Linked DNA regions of Homo sapiens: region 1 is linked to region 2. Evidence: promoter capture Hi-C in human tissues and cell types (Jung and others, 2019). All regions are on one chromosome and are shown on one strand. The core of a region is centred on a gene start or on the middle of the fragment in contact, and the rest is flanking DNA. Distances in the headings are between cores, read along the strand shown. Region 1 has its middle 110 kb from the start of LINC01427. Region 2 holds the start of CST3 (cystatin C).

Region 1 (3,355 bases), core at 55-2,554, 1.2 Mb after region 2:
TTAATCACTGTGTTATTCTGCTTTCTTGTTCCGAATATTCTTAAAATATTTAAAAACTTGTCAATAAAGAAAAGCTTCAAGAAGGCAGCAAGTTCAGTTTCTGAACTCTGTAAAGAAGAGATACACTTTCAGAAAGAGTTCCCAGTTGTTGAAGATGTTGGTGCAGGAGCCAAAAGACCATTTGTCGGAAATGTGGATGATCTAAAGTATTATAATTAAATGGCATATATGTGTTCTGTCAACCTGGTTATTCTGATGTGGGATCCTACTAACAGAACCAGAACCCCCGCATATGGCCATGAAGGTTGGATATTGCATGACTCCAGGGGAGGGATGCTTCATATTCAGAGGCATTGTGGATTTTCATATAGATCATGACAGTTTTCCTGAAGATTTTAGTCAAGAGTGCGAAGGGAGAGCTGCACTCTATTTCTTATATGCTCCAAGTTTCCATTTGGACCCTTAAAGGCGCTAACCATATCTGACATAGAAATATAATTTTAAAGGAAAGGGATGGATAGGCATAAGGCCAGAGATAGGAATATGAGTTAGAGGGTAATGGTGATGACTTCAGCAATAGGTAAGGAATGAGGGTGTGGATAAGAATAGAGAATTGATGAGGATCAGGAAGCTATTTCATATTTGTATTAGTCCAGGAGAGAGATGAGCTGGAAACACAAATTTAGGAGTCGTGAATATGAGAAGATAGTTGAAGGTTAAGGGAACTGGTAAGTCTACATGAGAAAGACCAAGGAACAAGAAAAGACAAGCATTGAAAGCTTGATCACTGTGCAAATCTAAGTCACTGGTCAGGAAACAGAACGTTTTCTGCAGGTAGAAGGTGATTGACAGAGAGAGTGTTTCAGACAGTGGGATGATGGAGAAGTTGATGGACCTCACAACTTGGATTGCTGTCAACCTTTACCAGACCACTTTCAGTAGATTGTTGATGGAGAATGGTACAGAAGTCCAACTGACAAATTGTGGAACAATAGCTGCTCAGAAAGTAGAAATAGTGAGTGCAGAAGGGTGGTGTTGGAGGAGAAACCCAGGGAGCTGTAATTTGAGGTGAAAGGAAGTCACGGGAAGTTTTTTTCATGGGAGCATTGGGAAGACCTGTTGACACAATAAATAATAAATCCTTTGTCAACAAAAGCCATATCTTACACATCACTGTAATATCTAAGGTAAATTTGGTGCTGAATGATCATGTCCCATAATTCCTATACTGGCACATAATAGAACAAGACATTTATTTGTGGGAGGAAATCTAAATGTTTTGCTGTTGAATCGCTTGGGAAGATGGCTCTTCTCTTGCAGTATTGAGAACCTGCACTTGATGTTTTAACAAGGTGTGAGAACACTAAAAAGGAGGGAACAAAGCTTGTAAGCAACTCATAAGGCATGATTCCAGGATCCAGCCTCAGTTTCAGTGAGTCCCACTTCTACATTTCTCTCAAATGCACCATGTGACAGAGAAACTTGGGAGAGTCTTGATTTGGAGGGTGCAGAGTGACTGGGAGACTCAGAGGCCAAGAAACTCTGAAGCCACTACTTGCACTTTAAATTCTTCCTTCTGCTGTTTCTGAACCAGCCGGGAAGCTGTGGCTGAAACTCTGATCATGTATCAAAGCTCTTAAACTGGCCTGGGGCAATTGGTTAAAAAAAGAAAAGGAAAAAAAAAAAGCAGCTGGAACCATTTTGCCATCCCATTGTATCATTATTATTAAACTCTTAGGAGAAAGGATTTTGCAAAATAAAAAGCATGACATATTATAACTTATGGGGAAAAGCATGACAATATAGCATGACATGTTGAAAGAGCATGGCATGTTTTAAAACGTATGATGTGGTAAAGCATGACACCTTCTAACTTCCTTATTACTTTCTGATTTCCAAAGTCTTACTGTTTATTAAAGTAAACAATAGTGAGATGATGGATGATTTCCATCATCTTCATTATAATATTCAACACTTAAAGGTAATATTTGTTTTTATCCTTATGTCTGTTCTGTGTTTTCTTTACATATACACATAAGCTATTATTATTTGTATAATTAAGTTCAGCACTCAATGTGTTGGCTAAATGAACGACAGCATGTACTTTTTGATAATTTTTCTCTTAGAAATACACTGTCAGTTGTTTCCATAGTTCAGTGTGTTTGTCTACTGCTTGATTTGTGTCATCTTCATATTATTCCAATCCTGTACACATATTTCATGATTGGTTTGGACATTTTGGCTGCTGGATACTTAGATTGCCCTATCCTTTTTTTTCAGTTACATATGATGCTGTAGTGAATATCGTCTCCTCAAACCCTTGGTATTATCCCTAGGAGAATCTGATATCCTAACATATATCCTACTTCATACAGAATAAATTTTAAGGCTTTTATATTTATTGTCAAATTGTGGATTAGAATGGTTAGTCCAATTTATATTTCCATAAGCTGGCATGAATGTTCATTTTCCTACATTTTTATTAAGTGCTGGGCATATTCATTAAAAATAAAAATGTTGGCCAGTTTTATAAGATAAATGTGGAATATTGTGTGTATATATATCATATGATAAATGTGTTGGAATTATTGAAATTTTCATTTGATCACAAGGTTTTAAAATTATTTCATATATTTGCCATCCATTTTACCATCTATTATTTCTAGCTCTTCTTCAGTGAGTTGCCTGTTTATATCTTTTGCCAGGTTTTCTATTGATCTATTGATGTATTTACCTTTTTTATTATTTATAAAATATCCTTATATAGTAAAGATATTAGTCTTTTCTCTGTCATGTATATTGTGATGTGTGTGTGTGCATGTATTTTGAAATGTTATATTTTATGTAATCATATATAGTGCTTATTTATTTGGTGAGATCTTTCTTTGCTCTTATGCTTACATAAGACTCTTCTACAATAAAATTATTCCTCTATTTCTCTGATTTTGTTCTAATTCTACCACGTGAAAATCTTTATCTTTTAACTTTTAAAAAATCAAAATTCATCTGAAAGTATGTGAGTGCATGTATGATATTATATGAGGCTGTAATTTTGATTTTTCCTTAAAGATTTAAAGAATTGGCTCATTAGTATTTATTTTTTCCTTTTCCTGTTGTCTTGAAAGCTACCTTTATCAAGTACCAAACTTTTATACATATTGAGCTTTCTGGATTTCTATTCTGTCCCATTAACATATTTTTATATTGATATCATACTGTTTTAATGATATATCAGCTTTGTCCAGCAGTAATCTTTAAAGAAGAATGACAAGACAATAGTAGTAAATTTAACGTAACTTATCAGCAAGGTCTGAGAAGTGAGCATCAAGTTTTAATTTAGGCATTTTCACCAGCT
Region 2 (3,110 bases), core at 382-2,881:
ATCATCTCTCTCTATCCCATACTCTCACTTCCAACAGAGAGACTAATTTCCTGATATTAATTATTGATCACTATTCGCCATCCTCCCACACACCCTAATGCTGGGCTGTGCAGTGCCACAGCCACCAGCCACATGTGGCCACAGGGTGCTTGAAATGGGGCCAGTACAATTGACACCCACATACACAGGGAATTTCAAAGACTCAGTACACACACCCAAAATAAAATAACCTATGTTATTAATGATTCTTCTTATGTGTTGAAATAATATTTTGGATATATTAGGTTAAGTAAGAAATATTATAAACATTACCTTCACCTGTTTCTTTTTTACTTTTTGAAATGTGTCTCCCAGAAAGTTTTAAATTGCTCCTGGGTTCGTGTCACATTTCTGTCTGGCAGCAGCCCTGCAATGTAGTGTCCATGGCTCGGTCACCCAGGCTCCGTCTCTAGCTCCTAGACTACCTGGTGCAGGGGGAAGCTGGTGAAAAGTCTGTTTACTGAATAATGAGTTGTGAAAGGAGAACCCAGAGTTTTTTACTCAAATAAAGGTTAATTCTTCTGTTTGAAAAGTTCCCTAGCACAGGGCATGGCCTGAGTCTCCTGTGGCCTCTGGAATCACACCTCTGCCTTAGTGATTTCTAGACCTTGACCAAATGCTCACGGATACTCAGGACCTCTGAAGACTCCGGAAGGCCGAGACCTCTATCTTTCCCTTTTCTGAGGAAATGAAGCTAGGGGGTCGTATGCTTTTAGGGCCCAGGGGGCCTTGACACCTCTCTGGAGGGCAGGGTGACCTAAGCTTGGGAGGAGGGACAGGTCTTTGGGAAGAGATGGAGCTGAGGGGGTGGAGTGGGTAGAAGGGGGGCATAGGTGTGGAAGGGGTGGGGGAAGAGGGGCCAGGAGTGGGGTGAGAAGAGGGGAAAGAAGAGGATAGGAGGGACAGGGACAGGGAGAGGCCAGGAATGGGTAGGAAGGGAAGACAGAGGAGGGGCGGGACGAGGGAGGGGCGATGAAGAGGGGCCGAGCTGGGGTGGGGGCGAAGTGGGAGCAAGGACAGGAGTGGAGGAGGGAGATGAGGGGCATGGGAGGCGGTGTCTGGGGGTTGAAAGGGGAAAGGGACAGAGGAGAAGGAGCCTGAAGAGTGGCGGCATGGAGGGGCCCGAAGTGGGGAGGTGGGAATGGTCGGATGGATGGGGAGGAATGGGGAGGATAGGAGAGGCAGGGGAGGCTGGAAGACAGTAGGAGAGGAGGGGGAGGGGAGGGGAGGGGATGGATGGGAATGGATAGGGAAGGCCAGGGAGACTGGGGGGCCAGGGGAGGAGGGGAGGGAGAGGGGAGGCGGGAAGGGAGAGGAGAGGCCGGGAGGGGCTGGGAGGGGAGGGAAGGGGATGGATGGGGAAGGACAGGGAAGCCTGGAGGGGCAGGGGAGGCTGGGATGGGAGGAGACTGATAGGGAGGGACCTGGAGGCGGGGAGAGGCAGGGGAGGCGGGGAGAGGCAGGGGAGGCGGGGAGGGAGAAGGGAGGTGGGAGGGACGAGGCGTTCCGGAAAAGGGAGTGCAGGCCGCGGTGGGGTGGGGCGGCGAAGGCCGGAAGGGATAAAACCGCAGTCGCCGGCCTCGCGGGGCTCACGGCCTCGCCTCGGTATCGCAGCGGGTCCTCTCTATCTAGCTCCAGCCTCTCGCCTGCGCCCCACTCCCCGCGTCCCGCGTCCTAGCCGACCATGGCCGGGCCCCTGCGCGCCCCGCTGCTCCTGCTGGCCATCCTGGCCGTGGCCCTGGCCGTGAGCCCCGCGGCCGGCTCCAGTCCCGGCAAGCCGCCGCGCCTAGTGGGAGGCCCCATGGACGCCAGCGTGGAGGAGGAGGGTGTGCGGCGTGCACTGGACTTTGCCGTCGGCGAGTACAACAAAGCCAGCAACGACATGTACCACAGCCGCGCGCTGCAGGTGGTGCGCGCCCGCAAGCAGGTGCGTGCCGCCCCCCGCAGGGTCCGAAGCCCCGGCCCCGCCGTCCCAGCCTCCCCCCGCGCTGCTCCCGGACCCCGTGCTGCTCCTCTCCGGCGCCTGGGCTTCTCACCCGGACCCTGTTCCCGGTCTTCGCTGTCACCCCCGAGCCCTTGGCGGGCGTGTCCGGGAATGCCCTGAGTCTGGCCTGGCCTGGAACCGCACGGACACGTCAGGTCCGCGCCCGGCGCCTAAGATCAGCTTCCAGGAGCCAGCTCGAGCTGCGCCGCAGCGCGGGGGCAGGCACAGGACGTCCCACACAGCTCTGTCCCGACCTCCTGGGACGCTGGGCTCCGGGTGCGCTGCTGAATACGCAGGAGAAGGAAAAACAGAGCCCCTCATCTGGCTGCCTCCTTGTTCTTCCACCAAATAATTTTTAAGCACTTTTGTTTCTTTTAACTTTTTATTCTCCCGTAATTTCAGACTTACAGAGCAGCTGCAAAATAGCACAGGGCATCCCTGTAGATCTTTCACCCAGATCCCTCAGATGTTAGCACAGATGTTAACATTTTGCCCTGTTTGTTCCCCCCAGCTCACTTTCCGAATGTGAATATGGGTGTGTGTATATGTACTGTATATGCATTTTTTGCCTGAATCTTTTGAAAGTAAACACTTCAGTGTGTTTTTCCTAAAAACAAGGGCAATATCGCACATAATCACTATTCCATTTTGAAAATCAGCACTGACACATTCATGATCTAATGCTCAGACTCATTCAGCTTTCCCTGTCTGTTGACGGCCTTCGTGCCCTAGGACGCTCCTGGGCCATGAGTGCATGAGTTCAGCCCTGTCCTGTCCCCTCGGCCTCTTTTAACCTGCAGCAGCAGCTGGGTCTGTGCCACGACCGTGCCATTTCCCAGGGTCTAGCAGGTGTGGATGGAGACTATGCTGACTCTGGGTGGGCTTGATGCTGCTCAAGATGAGATCTAGGCCATGCGGCTCATCCTCCTCCCAGAATACTCTCCGCAGGGGCCACACGTGAGCCTGGCACCTTGTCCTGCAGAGCCCTGCTTCCCTCCCCAAGTCACACCCCTGGGCACAGTCCCCTAGGACTAGCGGCCTTCACCCTCAGGCCGGCTGACCACCCCCTACATCCCAGGGCAGCTGA

Evidence for each region. Contacts are between HindIII fragments. The study calls those that stand out against the background at their distance.
Region 1: a fragment that was not itself captured here is called in contact with the fragment with the promoter of CST3 in region 2 in 1 of the 25 tissues and cell types used here (dorsolateral prefrontal cortex).

What each region holds. Positions count from the first base shown.
Region 1 is chr20:22,395,760-22,399,114 of GRCh38, reverse strand. No RefSeq gene overlaps it. Among named protein-coding and RNA genes, the nearest start is that of LINC01427, 110 kb to the right of the region's middle. The HindIII fragment of the contact is 3,047 bases long and covers 1-2,827 here.
Region 2 is chr20:23,636,476-23,639,585 of GRCh38, reverse strand. CST3 (cystatin C) reads left to right here and starts at 1,631. Exons shown (of 3, transcript NM_000099.4): 1 at 1,631-1,966. The coding sequence starts at 1,724. RefSeq lists silencers at 1,477-1,816, 1,847-2,096. The HindIII fragment of the contact is 14,575 bases long and covers 1-3,110 here.